Linked DNA regions of Homo sapiens: region 2 is linked to region 1. The links are contacts of gene promoters, found by promoter capture Hi-C in blood cells and fetal thymus (Javierre and others, 2016). All regions are on one chromosome and are shown on one strand. The core of a region is centred on a gene start or on the middle of the fragment in contact, and the rest is flanking DNA. Distances in the headings are between cores, read along the strand shown.

What was found. The method cuts DNA at HindIII sites, captures the fragments that hold promoters and counts their contacts. A CHiCAGO score of 5 or more calls a contact.
Region 2: a fragment that was not itself captured here is called in contact with the fragment with the promoter of ZZZ3 in region 1 in 3 of 17 cell types (monocytes, M1 macrophages and non-activated CD4 T cells); the score reaches 6.4 in monocytes.

The regions. Positions count from the first base shown.
Region 1 is chr1:77,680,106-77,685,188 of GRCh38, reverse strand. It overlaps ZZZ3 (zinc finger ZZ-type containing 3), which reads left to right and starts at 2,531. Exons shown (of 15, transcript NM_015534.6): 1 at 2,531-2,604. RefSeq lists enhancers at 1,276-1,375, 805-1,578, 2,396-2,475 and silencers at 1,526-1,585, 1,596-2,015. The HindIII fragment of the contact is 10,120 bases long and covers 1-5,083 here.
Region 2 is chr1:77,131,431-77,136,513 of GRCh38, reverse strand. The region is part of intron 9 of PIGK (phosphatidylinositol glycan anchor biosynthesis class K); the gene reads left to right. Among named protein-coding and RNA genes, the nearest start is that of MIR7156, 74 kb to the right of the region's middle. The HindIII fragment of the contact is 3,539 bases long and covers 1,065-4,603 here.

The DNA.
Region 1 (5,083 bases), core at 1,282-3,781:
ATATATCTCATAGGATTGTCAGAAGCCTAAAATAGGGTAACATAGAAAAGTACACAGCATTTGGCCTGGCACATAGGAATCAAAAGCATGCTAAGTATGGTTATTATAATAGGATTTGGCTCTATAAGTAGAAAGAGCAAGGTAGGGAAACGTGTTTATTTTTGTATCTCTAGTCTTAGCATAGGGCACTAGTATGTTTTATCTTTCCTTTTTTATTTTTGAGACAGTCTTGCTCTGTCGCCCAGGCTGGAGTGCAGTGGCACGATCTCGGCTCACTGCAACCTCCACCTCCCGGGTTCAAGCAATTCTCCTGCCTCAGCCTCCCAAGTAGCTGGGATTACATGGGATAACAGGCGTGTGCCACCACACCTGGCTAATTTTTCTATTTTTAGTAGAGACGAAGTTTCGCCATGTTGGCCAGACTGGTCTTTAACTCCTGACACCTCAGGTGATCTGCCTGTCAAGGCCTCCCAAAGTGGTGGGATTACAGGCTTGAGACACCGCGCCCGGCCTCCCCCACCCCCGTTTTTTTTTGACATACTGCCACCCAGAAACACTAGTATGTTCAATAAATACTTGATGTGTTAAAAACATGTAACCCTTTTTCTTGAAGTAGATGTTACTTTGAGTTGAACTCAAAGCTAAAATACAAAACACCATTTAAAACATTTAATAACTTTTATTAGCAACATAAAAGAAGGCACAACACGTATCCACTTGCCCGAAAAAAAAAATAGTGTTGCAAAGGAAAACAAAAGTAATGAAACAGCACTGGACAATTGTCAAAGAAGAGCCCCAGTTAACGGCTTCTACCACTGGATTTTATATTTTTGGAACATAATCTTTATAGCCACGGAAGGAGGTTTAGCTGTTTTTCCACAGCTCATAAATGATGAAGTTATTTATCTTCATTAATGTGTGTTGGGCTTTATTTTCCTACATGCTCAATATAGTTGGTAGATCTGTTTTGATATTACTGAGCACTGCTTTGTGCCAGACACAATTCTGGGGATACAGCAATGAGCAAAACAGTTTACTAAGTCCCTGCTTTTAAAAATTTTACATTTCTGGTGGTGAGGATACTGACAAATAAGGTCTGGAAGTTGTAACTGTTATGAAGAAATAAAAGCAGGTGAAGAGTTAAAGCAATGGTGCAGGTGTACTTTTTTTGGATACAGTGGTCTGGGCAGCCCTCTGAGAAGGGACCTGAAATATGCATCGAACATCGAGGAGTTAAAAAAAATCTGGAGGAAATGTTCTGCCAGAGAAATCGGCAAGCACAAAGGCCCGAAGTGGTTCGAGCCTGCGTGCTGTGGTACAAGCCAGAGGTGAACGAGGCGAGGCAGAAGCACGATCATAAATACATGTATGGATGTTCTCCTGGCTTGAGACCACAGTGCTAAGGGAGGTGGGGTTTACAAATCTCTCAGGAGGCCACAAAGGGCAGGATGAAGCCGATTTCCAATGGCGGAGCTACGAGGACGCCTTTCCTCTGCTAGGGCCAGGTTGGACGGTTGCAAGGGATGGACTGCAACCCGCCCTCGGAAGACCAAACTTCGCCCAGGGGCAGGGACTGGCCGGGGAGGGCCTCGGCGGCGCCCGACCCGCGGGCGCTGCACGGGCCGCGGTTACCAGCAGGCGGTGTAGTGAGCGCGCCTGCAGCAGCAGCAACAGCAGCAGCAGCGGTCGCCGCCGCCGCCGCCGCCCGCCAGTCCCAACGAGGAGAAAGGAGGGGACCGGAAGGAGCCGCTGGTGCTGCGGGAAGTGGCAGGAGCGGGAGGCGGGGACCCACCTGGAAGCGCCGCGGCGCCGCTATCGAGCTTCCTGCAGCGGTGGCCACCCGAGCAAGTGCCGTGGCGGGGGCGGAGAGCGGCCACGGCGGCGGCGCCTCCCCAAGTGGCCCGTTGCGTCCGACCCCGCGTGAAAGGTGAGCAAGAGCTCGGGACACGTGGTGAGGGCCAGACACGGGGGAGGGAGAATGAAGGGGGAGGGAATGGGGGTGGGAAACGATCGGCTTGGGACCCGGATTTGGAGCCAAGTACCGGGAGGGGGTGGGCTGGAGGCGACGACTGCGACGGCTGCGACGGCTGCGACGGCGAAGCCCCCACGTGGGGCGGGGGTGCGCGCGCACGTGTGCGCGGGCGAAAGGGGGGGCGGGGAGGGCTTTTGGGAGGGCGTCGGGAGCGCGCTCGCTCAGTAGCGGCCCACGTGACGGGCACGCCGAAAATGTTTCCACGTGACAGGGAGGCTGCCTGGGGCAGCGCACTGCGCTCTGTTTATGTAGTATAATCGTGGTAATCGGAGGTTTTTAAGATTTCTGCTTTTCTGTACAAGGGGAAAGGAGGAGACGTATAAAGCGGAAAGACTTCCTACTGTCTCAGTGTTTTAAATGTTCACTACTCCGTTAGTGAAGTGCTTTTTAAGTTCCGAAATACTGATTTTTTTCTGTACCGCCATGTTGGGTCTAGTGGAAGCTCGCGAGATGCGAGTGGGTTTGTATCGCGAGATCTCTCGATTCTCGCGGGACCTCGTTGGCAGAGCAGTTGTCCTGGATGGCGGAGCCTTGGGTTCCGGGGGCCTGGGACCTGCAACTCTTTCTACAAGGCAAGTCGTTAGGGAGGGGCCCGGGGCGAGTGCCTCTTGGTGCCGGGATACGTGCTGCATCAGCTTCCCATAGTCTTGAAGGGAATACAGTAACCCCATTGAGGCAACACTGCCCTCCCCATCCCCCTGCGGGCGCTCCACCACCTGCAAAAGCATATGCACCCCTCAGCCAGGTCCTTCTCCCCACGCAGTGATAGTTCCACCCTGTCCCACTCACTGGAAGTCCGGGAGCCGTGCTCGCGCAGACCTGATGATTCCATTGGATACCGTTCCTCTTACTTTAAGATGTTCTTGTCAGTTTTTCCCTTCTTGCCATTTTCTAAAGTATTCCAGACCGGTTAACTATTGTGTCGCGTTTTCTGCTGCAGTACCTGACTCCAGTCTCCTGAAACAGAACTCCTCCCATCTATTTTCTCTGGGTGTCATTTACTCATCACCCTGACTTCGTATTTTCAGTAACTTTTGGCAGTATTTGGAGGGCCCATTATGTCTCTGACAACACCTGTGGTCAGAATAAAATCCTGCTTTTCATCATTTTGTACGTGCCTATTAACTCAGTTATCGGTAGGGTTTTAATTACTACTGTGTTACTGAGGTTGCCATCTTTGAAGTTTAGGGATGGTTGTTTTAGGTTATATATTTAAGGTAACAGACTGTTTCATGTGATTTTTTTTTTTTTTTTTTTGAGACGGAGTCTCGCTCTTGTCGCCTAGGCTGGAGTGTAGTGGGGCGATCTCGGCTCATTGCAACCTCCGCCTCCCGGGTTCAAGCGATTCTCCTGCCTCAGCCTCTCGAGTATCGAGTAGCTGGGATTACAGTCGCGCTTCACCACGCCCGGCTAATTTTTGTGTTTTTAGTAGAGACGGGGTTTCACCATGTTGGCCAGGCTGGTCTCAAACTCCTGACCTCAAGTGATCCACCTGCCTTGGCCTCTCAAAGTGCTGGGATTTCAGCACTGTACAGGCGTGAGCCACCGCGCCCGGCCTCAGGTCAACTTTTTAGTAAAGAGCAAACTCATAAATTTTGGCATCAGAGTTTGAGCTTTATTTTTCTTAAATGAGTTTGAAATCAATTTAATATTTCTCTCCAATTCCCTAATGTCTCAGAAGTGAATTTACAGTATACCTTTGTTTTTTCGTATTCTTAAGTAGTATTTGGATTTTATTTAGTAGTTGCAGTACTAAATAAGGAGTGGGGAGTTAATTACAAAACGAATCAGGTGACTAGTTAATTTATTCATAGTTTGTTTTTTAAAACTACAAAAGTGTTTTTTTTTCCTATACATAATACAGAGAGGTATATAGTATAGAGTAACACAGTGCTTGTTTCACGGTACCACAAAGTTCCATTCCTCAGTCTTAAATCTCTGTAACCAGCCTTTGTGGTTGCTGTGTATCATTCCAGATATTTCCATATTTTGGTTTAGTTTTTGTTTCTTAAATGAAGGGGAGAAAGTGTTGTTTTAATGGGGTACCAACACAATATTGGCAATCAGTAAACATTTTTTAACTAAATTAAATTTTTATTTAGTGATATATGCCTGTTTGTCAAGACTTACGTATGCATACTTACGCAGATTTTTTTTGTTTGTACTGATTTTTTTGGTAGTATAATCTTGTGAAAATATCACAAGTAACTTATTTTTGCAGTAAAGTTGATTTATTGTGCTTGGTAGCTTTGCACAGAAAGAAAGTACATGTAAAACAAGATTTAAATAAATTAATGTTTTATCACTTGAGTTTTATATTTTTATCTTTAATGTGTGTTATGTATTTAACTTTATATATTATATATTCTAAACTGTAACCTAACTATATAGGAGTTTTTCAGACGTTTTAAAAGTTTATCACTGTGATTAAAATGATAGTTTGACCATGCAACTTAGTGATCTCAATTGGAGAGTGGTAGACATTAGTAGTTAGTACAAACAAAGGTATATATACTTGAAGTTGCTAAGCGGCTATCATTTTGTAAGTGTTGTTTTTGTAATTTCCCCCCGCCAAACCTACCAGTAATAATATTTATCAGACCAGTCACATAAGAGAATTGTCCACTCTTTGGGCAATGTGGTTTTTTGTTGTAACAGTGCAAGTAGAAATGTTGAGGAATAGAAGTGAGTGTTGAGAGGTATGATGTTGGAAAGAGGAAAAGGGGACATTGGGAGTGTAGAGGTTGATACTGAAATGGAATTGGACAAGTTGGGGAGAAAAGAGGAATGTAGAAGGTTGACAGTGAGGCAAGAGCCATGGTGCAAGAATAGTCAGGCTCATAATAGTTGGAGGACAGCCCGAGTCGGTATTTGAGGCAACTTTCTCCTCCTATTCTTTTTTAGATAGTTCTGGGTCTATTCACAGAATTGCTAGATATTTCCTGTCATAAAAGTCAGCAGCTTAAGGTTATACTTAATTGAAACCTTGTGAATTCTTTACTTTAGATAAAGCTATTCTGTTAAATAACATTTGTTAAGTACGTTTTATTA
Region 2 (5,083 bases), core at 1,585-4,084, 550 kb after region 1:
CCAGTCGCCCAGGCTGGAGTGCAGTGGCGGGATCTCGGCTCACTGCAAGCTCCGCCTCCCGGGTTCACGCCGTTCTCCTGCCTCAGCCTCCCAAGTAGCTGGGACTACAGGCGCCCGCCACTACGCCCGGCTAATTTTTTGTATTTTTAGTAGAGACGGGGTTTCACCGTTTTAGCCGGGATGGTCTCGATCTCCTGACCTCGTGATCCGCCCGCCTCGGCCTCCCAAAGTGCTGGGATTACAGGCGTGAGCCACCGCGCCCGGCCGACAGCAAACATCTTAATAGCAACAGCGGAAACCAAAAGATAGTACAGTAATACCAATAAAGTACTGAGAGAAAATTACTATTAGCTTAGAATTTAAGCTGGCTAAGCTACCATTAAGGACTGAATGAAAAATAAGGACATTTTCAAACATGCAAAAGCTGAGAGTGTTTGGTATCAAAATACCTTAATACCTAAAGGGATGCACTTTTTGAAAAAGGGAAATGAACCAGAAAAGAGGTCTGAGTGTAAATAGGAACGCTGTAATAAATTGGTAAAATGTGAGTAAATTTAAGCAAAAACTGAATATATTTTATAATTATGATGATAATGACAATGACAATAATTATTTGGGGAGTAAGATAAACCAAAGTATTAATGTATTTAATAACAACATTGTGTAAGAGAAGAGGAAGTGATTGGTTAAAGTATTCTGGAGTTTCAGCTTTTTTTTTTTTTCCTTTGGGAAAAGGGTTGTAAATTTTAATAGCTTTAGACAGTGAGGAAAGTATGCAGTTTACATTTTTAGAGTGATTAATAAATGAATAGAAATAGAGGAAATAAGATCAGAAACATTGCAGGAGAAAAAGTGAAATTAAAAAATCAATGAGAAGGCAGTAAAAGGAGTGAAGAGAAATAATGATAATTTTTTAATCACATTTTAAATAAGTGAATAATAATAGTTTATAACAATACTGCATTAGGATAAAAAGAGGCATAACTACAGACAGAAAATATAATGATATTAAATAGTTGAAAATGAAAGGATTACAGGCAACTACTGCTCACCAAAAGAAAGCTTAAATACTTATAGTGTAAAATATATACATAGTACATATACATATATGTGTATACACATAGTACATAGTACATAGAGTATATAACATATAACATTATTAATCATAAGCAAGATAACTAAGTAAAGGTTTATCTCATCAGGAAGAGAAAAGCATGTTAAACTCTTAATTAGTAATATAACCACAAAATATTTAAAACAAAAATTTACATATTTAAAAAACAGGTTGATAAGTTTATCATTATAATGGAATATTTCAGTATTACATTATCAGAAACCAATAAAAGAGCCATCCAAAAGTTTTAAAATTAAAAATGTAAGCAACATAATCAATAAACTTGAGCCAAGAAATTGAACAATTAGGGAATAAGCATTCTCTTTAAGACCAACTGTAATGTTTACAAATATTAACCAATACTAGGCCAAAAGAGTAAGTCTTAATAACATAAGGTGTTGGAATCTTGAGGAGCATTTTTTTTCGGATCACAGTGTAATAGTTATAATCATGAGTAAAAAAGAATTGTTTAAAACATATATTTGGGAATTTGAAAACACTCTTTGAATAATTCTTAGAATAATATTTAAAAACCTATGAAAATTAAAAAAATACTTGGGACTAAGTGATAATGAAAATATCAAAAGTAGTAGTGTACAATTTCTACTTCTGAACAGGATGGAATAATTTGCAGTAGGCTTATGAGCTCACCAAGAACAATTAGGAAAGGCAGATTAAATCGTATTTTTAAAAATATCAGATGTAGAAGCAATGAGGACTGAGAATCTAAAAATCTAGATTTGGGGAAACTTCTCAGAGATGAGCTGAGAATCTGTAGCCAATTTTTCTCTGTAATCATTCGCCAATTCTGGGAGTAGACCAAAGGTTGAGAATCTGGGCTTGGCAGTGGGCCACTGCTAGAGTATAGAGAAATTTCACCAGCAACATTTTTGGTGACTGTGTTAGGCTAGAGTGACATAATTGTCATTCACTCAAAATAACTTTCCTTTTCAAGATATTTGCCTCAATCATATTACCAATTTTCCTTTCAAAATACTTGCCAAATTCTAAAACTAAAGGGAAACTAAATTACTAAGCAAAAAACATCTGATAACCAGAGCTATGAATTTACTAGTCTTGTATTACTGAGGAGATAAACATCTTCAGGATGAGAGCCCCTTAAGAATGTACCAGGTAAGAGGTGACAGCTCTGGAGATTGTGGTGAACTAATGCTGACAGTTTCTAGCCACTTTTTTCTCTTGGGTACACTTGCTTTTTCCGGGTGCAGCAAAAGCAGAAGTCAGCAGACTATGGCCCATGGGCCAAATCTTCTTGTTGCCTATTTTTTAAAATAAAGTTTTATTGGAAAACAGCCTTATTCACTGATTTACATATCATCATGGCTGCTTTCATACTATAATGATTGAGGTGATTAGTTGCATAGAAAAGTCACATACCTCTGCGCTATAGGTGAGAATTTGGGCTTGGCCTCTGATAAAGGGTTACTAACGGGGACAGAGTGATCAGTACAGCTTTTGGCAGTTCAGTGAGGCTGGCATGCCAAATTCTTAAGCTGTGCAGGACAATAGTCCAAAAATGTAAGTCAGAAACCTTTGAAAATTATATTAGAAATCTCTATAGTCTTACTCTCTCTGTGTTGAGACAAAGACCTGCCAGGCTTTCAACTGAAAACCTTGAAGGGCCTCACCATTAGAATAGGGCCACATTAAGGTGTAATGAATTAGTTTTATCAAAATTTTCAGGTGGTCTAAATTCAGCTCAGTCCCTGAATGAGTAAAAGTGATCAGAGTATCACTCTTAACTGCCCAGCAGAGGAACACATGGACCTTCTTAAGTGGAAAATAACACTGTATATAACCTTTCTTAAGTATGCAGTTTCCTACATCCATCAATTAAAAATTACTAGTACACCGTAATCATATACCAAGAGAAAAACAAAACACAGAATATAGAAGCAAACTCAGAAGTGATCCAGAACTTGGAGGTAGTAGACAAAAACTTTAAAATAACTATGTTTAAGATGTTCAAGAAAATAGGAAAAATATTCTTGAAAATAGATGAAAAGGTGGGGAGTTTCACCAGAGCTTATAACTAAAATAATGAACATTCTAATATTGAAAAATATGGTATCTGAAGTTAAGAACTCAATCGATGGCTTAACAGCAAATTGGATACAGAAGATGATAGAATTAGTGAACTTGAAGACAGTACAATAGAAAATATTGAAACTGAAGCACAGAAAAAACAAACAGTACGAGATATGTTAGACACAGAAAAATGGTCCAACATGTGTGTAAATAACATCCCAAACTAGATGACAGATTGAAAATAAGGAAGAACAGACAATATTTAAAGTGATAATAAACATTTTCCTAAACTAATGAAATATATCGGACCACATATTCAGTTAATTCATTGTAAGCAAAATGAATGCAAAGAAAACCACAATTTGCCACATCATAGTCAAAATGCTGAAAAAACATAGAGAACAAACTTAAAAGCCTGACAGAGAAGGAAAGCCTGACATTATCTTTAATACTGACATATTATTACAATCAGAACCATAAAACAATAGAATGACATGTTTAAAGTGGTGAAAGGAAGAAAACTTTTAACCTATCATTCTCTACACAGCAAAAATATCTTACATAAGTGAAGATGAAATCAAAATGTTTTTCAGACAGAGAATTTGTTGCCAATGCACTTGAAATAAAATAAAACTAAATGAAATTCTTCAGCCAGAAATAAAATGATTATAAAGAGAAACAACAAAATTCAGTAAAGAATGAAGAGAGCCAGAATCAGTAAATATATCAATTAAAATAATTGACTATTAATCAGACAAAAAACCCCACCATCTTGTTGAGTTTAAAGTATTCATAGAATTAAAATGTATGACAATAATAAGGTCAAAGGCAGGAGGACAAATGGAGTCAAAGTGTTGTAAGGTACTACTATTATTGAAGAAATGGTAATGTTGAACAGTTTGATTAGACTACCAGGTCCAAGTTGGGTGTTCTAATGTCCAAGGTAATTGTTACGATAATGGTAAAAATACACCTATCAAGTTGATAGCAGAAAAAAAGATGTAATAAAATATTTGGCTGATTCAAAAGAAGAAAAAGGAAATTCAAACAGATGGGAGATAGAAAATAGGTAGTAGTTGTAAATCCAGCTATATCACTTATTACATTAAATGTAATTGGACCAAGTACCCTATTTCAAAGAAAAAAGTCATACTAAATTAAAAACATAACCTAAAAATGTGCTATTTACATGAGACATTTTCAGTATAAGGATATAAAAATCACTTTGGAGGTGGCTAACGTAATATTTAGATTTAGAAAGAAAGTAAGTAAAAGAAATAAATTAAGCCTTCAACTGAAGGATACTCCTTTTTTAATTGTATAAAACATGTACCCTTTCCCAACAAACTGCAAACAAGACAGCAGACTTAGATGGTTTTTACATTTGACATTTATTAACCACTTGAGGTGCTGACATAATATGAACAGAATAAAAAAGCTTCCTACCTCATTTGGTGGAACGAATATAATTCTGAAACCAAAACAAGACAGAGAGAATGAAGAAAATAGAGAGTCAGCCTCACTTGTGATCACAGATGTACAAATCTTAAATAAAATTCAAATTCAGTAATGTATAAAAACATTTCATGACCAAATAGAAATTATCTTAAAATTACAGGAATGATTCAGGATTAGAAAATATACTAGTGTATTTCATCATATCAATACATTAAATGAGAAATATTTTGTAATTATTTCAGTAGATACAGAAAAAACATTTGAATAAAATCATTAATCATAAATGATAATGTTTTTTAAAAAGGCAATGTGGCTTAGACACTGCAGATAAATGGGAGATAATAAAGGGAATGTGTCTAAAGCTAGCAGCAAACTTTATATAGTGTGAAATTATAGAAGCATTTCGATGAAAATCGGGGACAAGATAAGAATACATGCTATAATCCCATCTATTTGTTACTG